Linked DNA regions of Homo sapiens: region 2 is linked to region 1. Evidence: promoter capture Hi-C in 16 types of primary human blood cells and fetal thymus (Javierre and others, 2016). All regions are on one chromosome and are shown on one strand. Each heading gives the region's core, a stretch centred on a gene start or on the middle of the fragment in contact. The rest is flanking DNA. Distances are from core to core; before and after follow the strand shown.

Region 1 (7,857 bases), core at 1,695-4,194:
CACAGCATAAGAGTAATGCTGATTTTGAGCAATTGATTTTAAAATATTTACTTCTCTATGTCTTTTTAAACCATGAAGATAGCTAGTTAGTTTTACTTAAAATAAGATGAAAATTAAAGATACATATTCCCTAGCCCAAGCCAAAACATAAAACAAAAACCTAACTTAAGAGACCATTAAAAATAAACAAAATTAGACTTGCAAACGTTCTAGTAATACATAGGCTACACTGCTTTTTACAGAATTACTGAATATTCATCGAAGTATAATTCATATGCATTTAGTTAGAAGCTGGAGAAAGCTTACTATGATAATAAAAATACAATAGATTATAAGCTCCTTTTTTTGAATTAAATAGGCAAAAGCAGAATAATAACAATATAGCACAAACAATCAAGCAAATTTTGAGAGCTATTTTGGTAGAATATTTTATATGAGAGAGAAGATAGAGTCAAAGATAGACATGACAACTCAATGAGACCTAAATGTAAATGATAAAACCATCGACAAAAGCCTTGAAGGAAAATGCTTTTCCCCTCGGGGGATGATTTGTACTGGCCTCCAGGTGTAATATTATGTGCACTGATGAGCTGATCAACGGAACAGAACTTCTACCCAGCTGTAATCAAGAGTGATTGATGGTTGGGACGAAAAAAGTTGATTATCATGACAAGTTCGCTGATGCAGAGAAAATAAGCTCTGCTTGGGAAATGGATAAAACCTGTTCAGAGACTACCTTCTGAAAACTTATTTATAAAGGAATCTAAGAGAAGGTTAAAAGTTGTGAAGATGAACCTGATGTCCCGATAAACCTGATAAGAATAATTTGCCATACGTCAATCTCCACAGATTTCGTAAACAAGAAATTTAAAAGCTCATTTATGCCCAATAAAGAGTAACCACATACCCTGAATGTTACTTATGTGATTATGAAAAGATCTACTTCTCGAAGTACCACTGAAAATCACATGTACACAGAGAATTAAACTTTCATGGCATATCTTGCCTCCGTTTCTCTTCAACTCCCTCCTCACGAGGTAAGACTTCCCCAAACGACTGCAATCTTTACCACTATCAGATTCAATTTATATCAAAACACAGATTTGGACTGAGACAACAGATCCCAGAGGCAGTATTTTGCATTTAAAATGAGGTTTGGTAGGCTTCATAAAAGGTGAATCTGGGCCAGTGTTGGGTGTAAGTACAGTGTTCTAATATAGTAGTACCTGGATTGTGCAAAGATCTGTAGAATATGAAAGAATACATTCATCTTTTCAAATTCTGATAAGTCATCTAAGAAATTCTAGCAACGTAATCCAAATGCAGTGTGTAATTTATGCATGCCTGGTACAATTTCATTCCCCTTAATTAGAGAATAAAACCAAATCACCACTCTTAAACCAATCACCATAAGAAACTTTAGTGTGAAGAAGGTTAAAAATGAATGGGTGCTACACAGATTTGGGGGCAGAAGGTAAATGGGAAATCTCTGTACCTTCTGCTTAATACTACTGTGAGCCTCAAACTGCTCTAAAAATAAAGTTCATTTTTTCTACATAGACATTTTTGGCCATGGAGACACTTGAGAAAGGTAAATTATTTCATCACAATTACTCTAGTTAATACAGAGGATAGGGCTCAGTAAAAATTAGACAACAACAAATAGCAACTGTTAGGAAGGGAAGGATACGAATGGCCACAAAACCCCAAATTACACAGGAATAGACATTAATATGAGTTACCTTTTCTTAAATTTCTTTGCTCATCTGACCAGGAACAAACCCTCCTACTGTCCTAGTTTTCAGGACTAGGATGAAACTGATTATTTATGATATGCTGAAATAAATTATAACAAAATATAACAAAAAAAGCAAGAGTCTTGATAAACAGGAACTAGGATTAATGAAATGGAATGAGCAAATTTTATCTTTGAGATTTTCAATTATTGGTGACCACTAATCTAGTTTCTACTTTTGGTTTCTATAAGTTTTGTTAGTGCCTACTAATACTTTAAGAAGTGTATACAGTTGTAAAAAGAGATACAAAAAAACTGATTAAAATTTTAATAGATATGTATATCCAGCAATTTGTGGGCAACTGGTTTTCATCAAGGATTTTATTCCATAGCTAATAAAGATTTCATCAGCGCTGGTGCACTCTGAAATATTCACAATCATAAAGCTAAAATTTGGGGATGTTTGACAATAGTAATTTTTTTTCAAATAAACTAAAACTCGGAGGCTTCTACAAAACAAGCTTTCAGAATCATAAGAACAAGTTTCTAGGTCATGCTCAAGTCTAATTGCACTTATTTACTTCCCTTTAAAAATATGTGAATTTTCATGTTTAGGTTTCAGAGAATCAGTTACTTAGGATATGAATCCTGCATTGTGGAGAGAGTAGTCACTGTGGAAAAGGAAGCCTAAACTTCATTTTTATCAAAATGCAGAAATTATGAAACTTAAACCATCTTAGAGATTCCTGGGTTTTTCTTCTCTTTCTTTTTTTTTTTTTCCCAGAGATGATGAGGTGTCAGCCTGCTGCCCAGGCTGGAGAGCGGTGGTGTGATCAGTACCCATTGCAACCTCGAACCGCTGGGCTCAAGCAATCCTCAAACCTCTGCTTCTCAAGTAGCTAGGACTACAGGTGCGCACCACCATGCCCGGCTAATTTTTTAAGATTTTTGGAGAGATAGTCTTGCTGTGTTGCCCAGGCTGCTCTCAATCCCTTGGCCTGCCAGTGATCCTCTTACTTCCACCTCCTCAAGCACTGGGATTACAGGTGTGTGCCACTGAAACAGCCAGGTGAGGGGGGTACCCTGGACAAACTCTAATCAGCCTGCCCACTGAGGTGTAGCCTCAGGAAGTTCAATAGGGAGGAGCCTGGCCCCTCCTCTTCCTGTGTGGAACCTGCGATTTCAAGGGCCGACAGGAAGCCTCGATCGGGGAACTCTGACCTTGCGGAGGAAACTTGTTTCCCTTTTTTTCTTCCCGCCGACTTTCACTCGATAAAACCCTGCTTTATTCACCCTTTAAACCTTCTCCAAACCTAAATTTTCCTGGCCTTGGGACGGACAAGAACCCAGTCTTCAGATGAAGGAAGGAAAAGTCCTGCAACATTCTTGGCGTGCAACGTTGGGGCTCTTGAAGAGGTGAGTGAAAGGGGGACTCAAAACCTCTCACTGTTGGCCGGGCGCGGTGGCTGATGCCTGTAATTCCAGCACTTTGGGAGGCCAAGGCGAGCGGATCACGTGAGGTCAGGAGTTTGAGACCAGCCTGGCCAACATGGTGAAACCCCTCTCTAGTAAAAATACAAAAATAAGCCGGTGTGGTGGCGCGCGCCTGTAATCTCAGCTACACAGGGGGCTGAGGCAGGAGAATCACTTGAAGCTGGCTGGGAGGCGGAGGTTTTAGTGAGCCAAGATCACGCCACTCTACTCCAGCCTGCGCGACAAGAGCGGGACTATCTCGGAAAACCGCTCACCCTTGTTTCTAAGACTTTTCATCCTGCAACTTCTGAGCATATGGGAGACCGCTCCCCACCCCTTGTCGCTCCTGGGGGTCGGGGGCCTTTTCACGGTCTTTTCCTTTTTCCAGACGGACTAGCGAGCAGCAGTTCCCAGCCGCTCCCCACTCCTTGCGGGGCTGGGATGCATGGCCTAAGGGTCCCGCACAGCCGGTTGGCTGGTTCCCAGCCACAAGCGTCTGCAGCCTTCCCCTTCCCCACCCAAGGGGTTCTACTCCATCCGACAGTAATTAAGCTTTAACTTTTCTTATGCAACTGGTGGAGGAAACAGTTGCATAAGAATAAGAGGTTCTTCCCCAGGCATTCTTAAACTGTTGATTTTCTTTCCCCTTCTGTGTCCTGTCAGCAAGTTAACTTTTAAAGTTTCTTTTTTTCTTTCTTTCTAGAAGATGTTGTATTAAGGTAGGCCCCCCAGCCCCGCAGCTATCGCTGTTTATATTTTCTGCAAAGTTTTGGTTGTGAAATGAAGCCTCCATGTTGTTTTACATCCTGAGGGCATGGCTTGTAACTGGTGGCAAGGCTTTGTTTAGCAATCCTGCCTTAGGAAGTAAGTTTCTTTCTGGTTTGATATCTGCATGTTTTCCTAGCCCTGTTTCTTAAAGGACCCCACCTAGCGACTGGATTTTTTTGTGTGTGTGTAGTGTGTGATGTCCGTAAAAAGAGTTCTAATTAATTTGTCCTAAAGAAAGACAAGCACTTGGATCTAATATTTTTTAAAGGGCAGATAAAATCTGTGGTACCTTTCAGTTCACGTGGCTTTAATCTTTAAGAAATAAAAACAGCCCTAAAGACTTAGTAAAATGCAGGTCAGATGCAAGTGTTTTGAGGTTAAACTGCTTGTTGGGTTTTGAGAACTATTTGCTTTGCCAGCTTCGCAATTGGTAAGGCCTGGGGACATATGGAACTAACCACAGACTTGACTAAGAAGGCAAAACGTGGCTGCAGTTAGCACACAATTAAGGCAACTTATCAAGTTTTCCCTTAAAGTTAAAAATTGCTAGGAGTTTATCGACATTACTAGAAATGGATTTGCATGCAAGGTGTGTAGGAACAGTAAAATGTGTTTTGTGTTTTTTTTAGTGAAAGGTTATAAGAAGGTGTGGAAATGTAAACTTTCGCCTAGGGTTACAGGATTGTTTTGAGTTAGGAAAAAGCTGAAGGTTCAAAGAAGTGTTGGAAAAATTCTGGAAATTAATCTTGAAAAAGAGGTTCTCTGTGTGAACATATTGACTGAATTCAAAAAAAGGTATTATGTGGTTTTTCTGCAAATTGAGCATTGAAATACAATCAGAAGGTATTCTTAAAATGCTAATCTGGTCTTCGGCAAAATTTATAAAGATTCATGAAAGGTTTTTGCTTCTTTAAAATTTCTGAGTCATCATTTTGGCAAAATAAATAACTTTTTGGCAATCTGGAATTCTGTTTCATAATATTAAGTGTTTTAGACCTCGAACATTTAGCAGCCTAACCAAAATCAAACTTCAGTTTCAAAATTGTCTTCCCTGGCACCTGGCTTTGCGAATACTTCAGAGGGCCCCTGAAGTGTCCAGAAAAGAGAGGCAAACAGGATTATTTGACGTGTTCACGTATACAGGATTGCCAAAATGATGTTCAATCTTCCTTAGGTTATATCTTGGTGAATAATGCTAACATATGTTCGAAAATTGTATGGGATTTCTAAAACTAATGGCTAAGTATATGCCATCAATCATAATGAAGGTTGTTAAGTTATTGTAAACCATAGAGATAACTAAACTTCTTTCCCTGTTGTGTTTCTAACTGTAACTACCCTGGATATTTTGCTATTCACAGACAATTTTTGTCTTGTTTTAATCCTTTTCAAAGATGGTTTAAAATGAGCTATAGAACTTTAACAGGTGCTCTCAAATACAGACTTGTGATAACTTTAGAGATTGTAACATTGGAATAAAGGAAAATGTACAAGACTCATGAAGAGCTGAAATGCTCGTGAATATCAAGCAAAGCAAGAGTTTACTAAATGGACTGAACTCAAAGCAGAAGCAACTTTTTTGACTTTTGCCTGGAATATTGCTGATCTATGTTCTGTTTTTCAGAGTCAAGGAAACTTATTTTGAACTATTTAAAGTTTTTTAATAAATAAGGTATACACTCCTGTGATCAGAATTTGGAGCATGTTTGTTTCCCTCTGCCTGGCTCCTCTAGAATTTGGAAACTATGAGTATTCTTATGGCAATATAGTTGTTTGGATGACAGCAATAAAAATCCATTTTTCTTTTGCATTAGAACACAATTGGAAAAAAACTGTTATTTTATCAAGACTTTGACTGGAAGGGTATGCTTCCCTATAAGGAGTCAAGTTCGACTTACAGAGCCGATAAAAGCTCCATGGGAGACTGGCCTGAGACCCTCCTCTACACAGTCCCTAATCAGGGTTCCTGACTTGTGTTCAGTAAAGAGTGTCACTTTCTAACAGGTCTAGGAACTCCAAGTTTATCTTGGGACCTCAAGAGGAGAGGATCACCCAGCTCACAGGTTTTTGAGGATGCAAACCCATGGTTGGGCTGGGCTTTAAAAGGTCTTATCTGAGATTCCTTGTGGAACAAACTTCCATCAAAGCCAATACAAAAGGCCTTTGTAGAAATAATTATTCTTGCTGTACTTTATGCCAATAATCAAGCCAAGTCTATTTTGCAAACTACTCAGTCCTATCATATTTTTTTTTTGGTAACAAAATTGAGGACTGGAAGGAGAAATTATGTCCCAAAACTCATCAAACTTACCATACATCTGTCATTAAATTTGAAACTCATTAGTTGTTTTTAAGTTTTTGCCTACATTTTACACTAACCCTGCTTGTTCCTGTGACCCTACCAGCAATCTCTGGCTGCAGCTCAGAAAGAACTAACAGGATGAGTAATGTAGGAATCCGGATTGATACTCTAGTTCTGAGCAATTATCCTGCAAATCCTATCCGGTGATGGAATAAATAGTGTGCCCATCACCCAGAGGTTTCCTTTTGGGAAAGTAAGACCAAGGGAACTAACCAAAGCCAAGCACCATTCACCCAAATCCCAGCAAGCCTAACTATAGCCAGCAGTTAGATGGGTATGTCACAAGACATCCTTTCCTCTCCCTTGTTGGAGGAGGACTCAGTTCCACAGTTTCACCTTAGATTTGGCTTATGATAAGGAGTCCATGCAACCCCCCTGAGACATATTTTTGTCCCAGACTCAATTCCAAGCTTTAGGTCAAAGCTCTAGGAAAGAGAACTGGATCTAAGGGATCCAGAGGCAAGCAGAGGTTAAAAGGCACAGCTTAGGTGAGTGTGGCTGATTCCTGCCATTTAAGCCAGCCGCAAGCTTCCTGTTTCATGGATAAAGGCCACGTTAATATCCATGGCATAAATGAGGTCTAGGGAACTCCAAGGCTACTGGCAGTAGGTGGGAAAGAGACATAGGTGAGAGTGGATAATTCCTATTCTCTAGCCCCCCCCGCTTCATGGGTTCAAGTCACTTTTGCACTCACGGTGGTGCCTGCCAAAGTCGCTGGAGCTCGTGGATGCAAGGACAGAAGAGGGAAAGTGGACACTCTTCCCTCTCTGCCCTACATACCCTGGGTATCTGATAGGAAGAGAAGGGAACCAGGGACACTTGCTCCCCTCTTTCTAAATGGGTAGCCATTCATCTTCTGCCTGTATCCCTTTAGAATGCATGCTGAAACCCTGGGACTCCTTTGAAAAATGCCTTTTTATTCCTTTCTCCTCGGATCCTCTCTTCACTGATATGTAATTGTGTCTCTGTACTATGGGAGACTCCCCTCAGATGAAGCCTCCAAACTGGAAAGAGTTAATTTCCCAACCCTTAAACTGGTTGGTTTAGGATTGGGCTCAGGAGAAGGGAACCCAGAAGCCCAACCTGCCAGCAAAAGCATAGTTTTTTAACCAGTCGGGCTTTTGGCCTCCCTCTCCCTGTGCAAACTGGTAAAAGGCCTTGGAATTTTTTAGCTGTTCTTACCCCTCCCCTTGTTTCATTTAAATACATGTTTTCTAATAACCCAGTTTGTCTGTTCTTGCCTTCAGGACATCAAACTCCAAACAGTCATTCAACCAGAGCGTCTGACGATAGCCCCTTCTGCTGGGACCCCTTAGGCCTCTAGGGAAGCTCTGACTGCCGCTTCCCCAAAATAGCGCCTCCTGTTAGCAGAAAGCAGTTAAGATCAGTCTTCGTTCTTATTCTAAGGGCAGTTAGATGTACTTTTTGTTTTGTTTTGTTTTTTTTTTTTTGAGACAAGAGTCTCGCTCTGTCTCCCAGGCTGGAGTGCAGTGGCATGATCTCAGCTCACTGCAACCTC
Region 2 (7,857 bases), core at 3,571-6,070, 1.0 Mb before region 1:
TTGTCTTTGGGTTAATTTGAATGCCTTATCTTCAAGCTTTGAAGTTTTTTCTTCTACTTGTTTTAGTCTATTGGTGTAACTTTCCACTACATTTTGTATTTCTCTAAGTTTGTCCTTCATTTCTAGAAGTTGTGATTATTTTTTCTTTATGATATATATTTCTCTGGAGAATTTTTTATCCATATCCTGTATTTTTTTTTCAAAATTTAAGTTGTTTTTCACCTTTCTCTGGTATCTTTTTGAGTAGCTTAATAATCAGCATCTTAAATTCTTCATCTTGCAATTCAGAGATTTCTTCTTGGTTTGGATCCATTGCTGGAGAGCTGGTGTGATCTTTTTGAGGAGTGTTTTAGAATGCTGTTTGGTCATATTATCAGAATTACTTTTCTGGTTTCTTCTCAGTAGGGTAGCGTATTTCAGTGGAAAGGTCTGAAATACAAGGCCTACTGTTCAGATTCTCCGGTCTCTTGGAGTGATCCCTTCATGTGGTGCTCTTTCCCTTCCCCTAGGAATGAGGCTTCCTTAGAGCTGGACTGCAGTGATTGTTATTGCTCTTCTGGATCTAGCCACCCAGTGGGGCTAACAGTCTCCAGGCTGGTGCTGGGGAATGTCTGCAAAGTCCTGTGATGTGGTCCAACTTCAGGTGCCCCAGCCATAGATACCAGCACCTGCTCTGGTGGAGGTTGCAGGGGAGTGAAATAGATTCTCTTAGAGTGCTTGGTTGTAGATATTTTTAGTGTGCTGGCTTTCTCAAGTGCTGGTTATGCTAGCAGTGAAGCTGTCCTGCAGACACACTCAGGACCCCTGTTAGCCAGGATGTTGCAGGCATTGGAATTAGGTATTGTTTTCTTCCTGGTATCAGGGTTATTCTGTCATGAGTTGCTGTAATGAGCTGAGTTGGTTGGCCTTCAGCCAGGAGGTGGCACTTTCAAGAGAGCACCAGCTGTGTGGTAGTAGTAGGGGGACCAAAGCTTGCCCTAAATTAGTCAGTGTAAGTATTTTGGTTTCTAAGGCAGTGGGCGGGGTCATAGAGCTCCCAAGAGTTTTTATCTTTTGAGTTTGACTATGAGAGCCTATAGAGAAGTACCATCAGGTGGGGGCAAGGTTAGGTGGGTCTGGGCTCAGGCTCTTTAGGTGGGGCTTGCCATGGCTACTGTGGGGGCCAGAGGGTGGTTTTTGGGCCGATGGGGTTATGGTCCAGAGGGAATCTTGGCTGCCTCTGCTTTGTCAATATAGTTCACCAGGGAAATAGAGGATAGCCAATAGCGAGAGGCCTCACCCAGCTCCCAAGTGGTTGATGAGTCCAGTCTTGCTCCTGCAGTGCCCTGCTCAGACCTTGCCCCAGGCTGTGAGCTTTCCCACTGAGAAAGCAAGCCTGGCTTTTGGTCCTCACCCCTCCCTGCCTGCCCACTTCATTGGCAGCAGCTGCTGGACTTGTATTTGCGGTAGCTCCTGCTCATCTCCTAGACTCTACTCAGGAAAATCATGCCCAGTCAAAACCACTACCAATTTCAGCTGGAAGCTTCCTTCACCCTGAGACCTCTCCCCTATTCCTCTGGCTATTTTCTCCTAGGGACCCTGTGAGATGTAGTCAAGGATGGCTTCCCTGGACTTGAGCTGGAGACTGGGAGTGCCTGCAAGGAACTTCCCACTGCTGCTTCTACTTTTATATTTTGTATTTTGCATAACTCTTTACATCTATTTCAGCTCTAAGTCAGGCTAAATCCTTCCCAATGATCTGTGTTTTCAGATTCTCCAGTGGGTATGTGTGTTTGGAAGCAGGTTTTTCCTCTCTCACACTTTGGGAACTCACAGATTTTTGCTTGTCTTGTGGCATTTGCAGTGGCATGCTGCTTCTTTCAAAGGATCTGTGAATTCTTTTAGTTTGTTTGGTACCTTCCTGCAGTGGTTCTTGGAGCAAAAGATCACAGTGTGAGTTTCCACACACTATTCTGTCTATCCAAGTGGGAGCTGCACATTAGCTCTACCTCCTATCCACCATCTTGTCCCCTTAATCACGCTTTCTTTATCTAGTTCACTGTTAATGGATATCTAGGTTGATTCCGTATATTTGCTATTTTAAACAGTGCTGTGATGAACATACGAGTTAATGTGTCTTCATGGTTTCTTGTATAGTTTCCTTTGCTGTGCAGAAGATTTAGTTTAATTAGTTTCCACTTGTCACTTTTTGTTTTTGTTGTGTTTGATTTTGGAGTCTTCATTATGGCAGATAATACAGGGTTTTCTAGGTATAGTATCATGTTGTCTGCTAAAAGAGATAATTTGACTTTCTCTCTTCTTATTTGGATGCCTTTTATTTCTTTATCTTGCCTGATTCCTTGGGCTAGGACACTCTGTACTATTCTGAATAGGAGTGGTGAGAGTGGGCTTCCTTGTCTTTTCTCAGTTCTCAAAAGAATTCTTCCAGCTTTTATCCATTAAATATGATGTTGGCTGTGGGTTTGTCATGGATTGCTGTTATTATTTTGAGCTATGTTCCTTCATTGCCTATTTTATTGAAGGTTTTTAACATGAAGCCACGTTGAATTTTACTTAAAGCTCTTTCTACATCTATTGAGATGATCATGTGTTTTTTTGTTTTAGTTTTGTATATGTGATGAATCACATTTATTGATTTGCTTATGTTGAACCAACCTTGCATCTTAAGAATAAAGCCCACTTGGTCATGGTAGACTAGCTTTTTGATATGCCGCTGGATTGTGTTTGCTAGTGTTATGTTGAGGATTTTGTGTATCTATGTTCATCAGGAATGTTGGCCTGAAGTTTTCTATTTTCACTGTGTCTCTGCTAGAGACTCAATATGTTGGCCTCACAGAATGAGTTAGAGAGGAGTTCTTCCTTCTCGTTTTTTGGGAATAACTTTAGTAGGATTGGTACCAGCGCTTCTTCATATGTCTGGTTGAATTCCACTGAGAGTCTTTCTGGTCCAAGGCTTTATCTGGTTGGTAGGTTTTTTATTATTGATTCAATTGTGGAACTCATTATTGATCTGTTTGAGGTTTTAGTTTCTTTCTGGTTCAATCTTGGGAGATTTTATGTTTCCAAGTATTTATCAATTTCGTCTCTAGGTTTTCTTGTTTGTGTGCCTACAGGTATTTACAAGAGTTTCTGAGGGTTTTCTGTGTTTTGTGGGTGGCTGATGATGTTCCCTTTGTCATTTCTGATTGTCTTTATTTGGATCTTCTTTCTTTTTTCTTTATTAGTTCAGCTAGTGGTTTATCAATGTTATTTGTCCTTTCAAAGAACTGTTATATTTGGTTTCATTGATCTTTTGTATGGGTTTCCTCATGTCCATTTTATTCAGTTCAGCACTGATATTTGTTACTTATTTTCTTCCACTAGCTTTGGGGTTGGTTTTGCTCTTTTTTATAGTTCCTCAAGGTGTGTCATTAGATTGTTAATTTGAGATCTTTCTAACTTTTTGATGTGGGTGTTAGCACTATAAACTTTCTTCTTGAAACTGCTTTAGCTGTGTTCCAGAGAGTCTGGTATGTTGCAACTTTGTTTTCATTAGTTCCAAAGAATTTCTTGATGTCTGCCTTATTTCTATTCTTCATTCAAAAGTCACTCAGAAGCACATTTTTAAATTTCCATGTAATTGTATGCTTTTGAGAGATCTTCTTGGTATTGATTGTTATTTTTACTGTGCAGTGGTCCAAGCATGTGGTTAGTATGATTTCATCTTTTTTGAATTTGTTGATAGTTGTTTCATGGCTGAGTGTGTCATTCATGTTAGAATATATGCCATGTGCAGATTAGAAGAGTGTAGATTCTATTTTTGTCAGGTGGAGTATTCTGTAGATATCCATTAGGTCCATTTGGTGAAATGTTGAGTTTATGTCCCAAGTATCTTTGTTAATATTCTGCCTCAGTAATCTGTCTAATACTATCAGTGAGTTGTTGAAGTCTCTTACTATTATTGTGTGATTATCTAAGTATCTCAAGTCTCTAAGTATGTGTTTCGTGAATCTGGGTTCTCCAGTGTTGAGTGCATATATATTTAAGAGAGTTAAGTCTTCTTGTTGAATTGAATGCTTTATCATTATGTAATGCCCTTCTTTGTCCTTTTTGATCATTGTTGGTTTAAAGACTGTTTTGTCTGAAATAAGACTAGCAACCACTGCTCTTTTTTGTTTTCCATTTGCTAGACAGATTTTTCTCAACTCTTTATGTTGAGCCTATGAGTGTCCTTGCATGTAAGATGGATCTCTTGAAGACATCATACAGTTGGGTCTTGCTTCATTATTCACTTGACACTCTGCCTTTTAAGTGGGGTGTATGGTCCATTTATATTCAAGGTTAATATTGATATTGGTGGATTTGATCCTGTTACCATACTGTTAGCTGGCTGTTATGTACACTTGACTGTGTAGTTGCTTTATAGTGTTAATGGTCTATGTACTTAATTGTGTTTTTGTGGTGGCCTGTAATGGTCTTCTGTTATCATGTTTAGCACTCCCTTAAGCACCTTTTCTCAGGCCAGTTTGGTGGTAATAAATTGCCTTACCATGTTCTTGTCTAAAAAGGATTTTATCTCTCCTTTTCTCATGAAACTTGGTTTGGCTGGATAGGTTTTGTTCCTTTTTTTAAATACTTTTTTCTTCATTTTGGTCTGAGTTGTTTCGAAGAACTGGTCATCAAGCTCTGAGATTCTTTTTTTCCTCAGACTAGTATACTCTGCTGTTCATACTTCCAATTGTGTTATAAAAAATATGCAATGCTTTACAAATTTGCATGTCATCCTCACACAGGGGCCATGCTGACCTTCTCTGTATTTTTCCAATGTTATTAATAGTATATGTGCTGCTAAGGTGGGTACTACATTCTTTTTCACAGCTATGTAGTATTCCATGCACCATATTTTCATTTTCTAATCCACTGTTCATGGACACCTAGGTTGGATCCGTATATTTGCTATTGTGAGTAGTGCTGCAGTGAACATACAAGTATAAGTGTCTTTTTGGTAGAATGATTTATTTTCCTTTTGGTATATACCCAGTAATGGGATTGCTGGGTCAAATGGTAATTCTATTTTAAGTTCTTTGAGAAAATTTCAAACTGCTTTCCATAATGGATGCACTAGTTTATATTTCCACAGTATATAAGCATTTCCCTTTCTCCACAACCTTGCCAGCATCTGTTATTTTTTGACTTTTCAGTAATAGCCATTCTGACTAGTGTAACTCATTGTGGTTTTGATTCCCATTTCTTTGATGATTAGTGATATTCATATGTGTGTCAGTCATCTGCATATCTTCTTTTGAGAAATGTCTGTTCATGCCCTTTGCCCATTTTTATTAGGGTTATTAATCTTTTGCTTGTTGTATTGTTTAAGTTCCTTATGGATTCTGGAAATTAGACCTTTGTCAGATGCAATGTTTGCAAATATTTTATCCCATTCTGTAGGTTGTCTGTTTTCTCTGTTGATAGTTTCTTTTGCTGTGCATAAGCTCTTTAGTTTAATTAGATCCCACTTGTCAATTTTTGTTTTCATTACAACTGCTTTTGAGGACTTAATCATAAATTCTTTGCTAAGTCGAATGTCCAGAATGGTATTTTGTAAGTTTTCTTCTAGGATTTTTACAGTTTGAGGTCTTCCATTTAAATCTTTAATCAATCTTAATTAATTTTTGTATATGGTGAAAGGTAGGGATCCAGTTTCATTCTTTTGCATATGGCTAGGCAGTTATCTCAGTACCATTTATTGGACAGGGAATCCTTTTTTCATTGTTTATTTTTGACAGCTTTGCTGAATATCACATGGCTGTATGTGTGTGGCTTTATTTCTGGTTTCTCTATTCTCTTCCTTTGGTCTATATGTCAGTTTTTGTACCAATATTATGTTGCTTTGGTTACTGTAGGCTTATAGTACAGTATAGTTTAAATTCAGGTAATGTGATGAATCTGGGTTTGTTCTTTTTGTGTAGGATTGCATTGGCTATTTGACCTCTTTTTTTGGTTCCGTATGAATTTTAGAATATTTATTTCTAATTATTTGAAAATTGATGTTGTTTAATAGGGATATTGTTAAGTTTGTAGATTGCTTTGGGCAGTATGGCCATTTTAGCAATGTTGATTCTTCCAATTCATAAGTGTGGAAGGTTTTTCCATTTGTTTATATCATCTCTGATTTCTTTCAGCAATGTTTTTAAATTCCCATTGTAGAGATCCTATTTGGTTAGGTGTATTTCTAGATATTTTATTATTTTTTGGTGGCTAGTATAAATATAATTGCATTCTTAATTTGGCTGTCAGCTTGAATGTTATTGGTGTATAGAAATGCTGCTGATTTTTGTACGTTGATTTTGTATCCTGGAACTTTACTGAAGTTGTTTATCAGTTCCAGAAGCCTTTTGGCAGTCTTTAGGATTTTCTAGGTATAGGATTATATCATCAATGAAGAGAGATAGTTTGACTTTTTCTTTTCTTATTTGGATGCTTTTTTTCTAGTGCGTGATTGCTCTTGCTATCACTTACAGTGCTATGTTGAATAGGAATGGTGAGAGAGGACATCCTTTTCTTCTGCCAGTTCTCAAGGGGGAAATCTTCCAGCTTTTCCTACTCAGTATGATGTTGACTAAGGTTTTGTCATAGATGGCTGTTATTATTTTGAGTTATGTTCCTTCATTGCTTAGTTTGTTGAGAATTATCATGAAAATATATTAGCTTTTATTGAAAACATTTTATGTATCTATTGGGATGATTGTATGGTTTTTGTTTTTAGTTTTGTGTATATGGTGAATCACATTTATTGATTTGCTTATGTTGAACCAACTTCATATGCAAGAAATAAGGCCTACTTCATTACGGTGAATTAACTTTTTGACGTGCTGCTGGATTCTATTTGCTAGTATTTTGTGGAGGATTTTTGTATCTATATTCATCATGAATATTGGTCTATAGTTTTCTTTTTGTATTGTGTCTTTGCCAGATTTTGCTATCAGGGTAATTCTGGCTTCACAGAATTAGTTAGGGTGGAGTCCCTCCTTCACAATTCTTTAGAACAGTTTCAGCAATATTCTTACCAGCGCTTCTTTGTATGTCTCTATATTTTGGCTGTGAATCCATCTCGTCAAGGGCTTTATTATTTTTGGTAGGTTTTTTATTACTGATTTAATTTCTGAAGTCAATGTTGATATGTTCGGGGTTTCAAGTTCTTTTCAATTCAGTCTTTGCAGGTTGTGTGTTTCCAGGAATTTGTCCATTTCCTCTAGATTTTCTAATTTGTGTGGACAGAGGTGTTCATAATAGTTTCTGAGGATCCTTTATATTTCTGTGAGATCAGTCGTTATTTCTGATTCTGCATGTTTGGGTTTTCTCTCATTTTTTCTGTGTTAATCTAGCTAATGGTTAATTGATCTTGTTTATTTATTCTTTCAGAGAACCCACTTTTGCTTTATTTGATCCTTTGTATGAATTTTTGCCTTTCAATTTTGTTCAGTCTTGCTCCAATTATAGTTATTTGTTTTCTTCTGCTAGCTTTGGGGTTACTTTGTTCTTGTTTTTCAAATTGCTCTAGATCTAGTATTAGATTGTTAAATTGAGGTCTTTCTAACTTCTTGATGTAGGTGTGTTTGCTACTTTTTAGATGTCTATTAGGTCCAATTGCGCAAGTGTTTAATTTAGGTCCAGAGTTTCCTTGTCAGTTTTCTGCCGCAATGATCTGTCCAATTCTGTCAGTGGAATGTTGAAATTCCACACTATTATTATGTGGCTGTGTAAATACTTTTGAAGGTCTAAAAGTACTTGTTTTATGAATCTGGGTCATCCAACGTTTGGTGCATATATATTTAGAATTGTTAAGTCTTCTTGTTGTATCGAATCCTTTATCATTAT

What was found. The method cuts DNA at HindIII sites, captures the fragments that hold promoters and counts their contacts. A CHiCAGO score of 5 or more calls a contact.
Region 2: a contact is called between a fragment that was not itself captured here and the fragment with the promoter of ZNF385D-AS1 in region 1, in 1 of 17 cell types (M2 macrophages). The highest score is 5.6, in M2 macrophages.

What each region holds. Positions count from the first base shown.
Region 1 is chr3:21,539,845-21,547,701 of GRCh38, forward strand. It overlaps ZNF385D-AS1 (ZNF385D antisense RNA 1), which reads left to right and starts at 2,945. Exons shown (of 3, transcript NR_046731.1): 1 at 2,945-3,151. All of the region lies in intron 3 of ZNF385D (zinc finger protein 385D), which reads right to left. RefSeq lists enhancers at 3,513-4,093, 7,839-7,857. The HindIII fragment of the contact is 1,504 bases long and covers 2,255-3,758 here.
Region 2 is chr3:20,502,917-20,510,773 of GRCh38, forward strand. It overlaps the pseudogene RNU6-815P. Among named protein-coding and RNA genes, the nearest start is that of SGO1, 320 kb to the left of the region's middle. The HindIII fragment of the contact is 6,600 bases long and covers 1,521-7,857 here.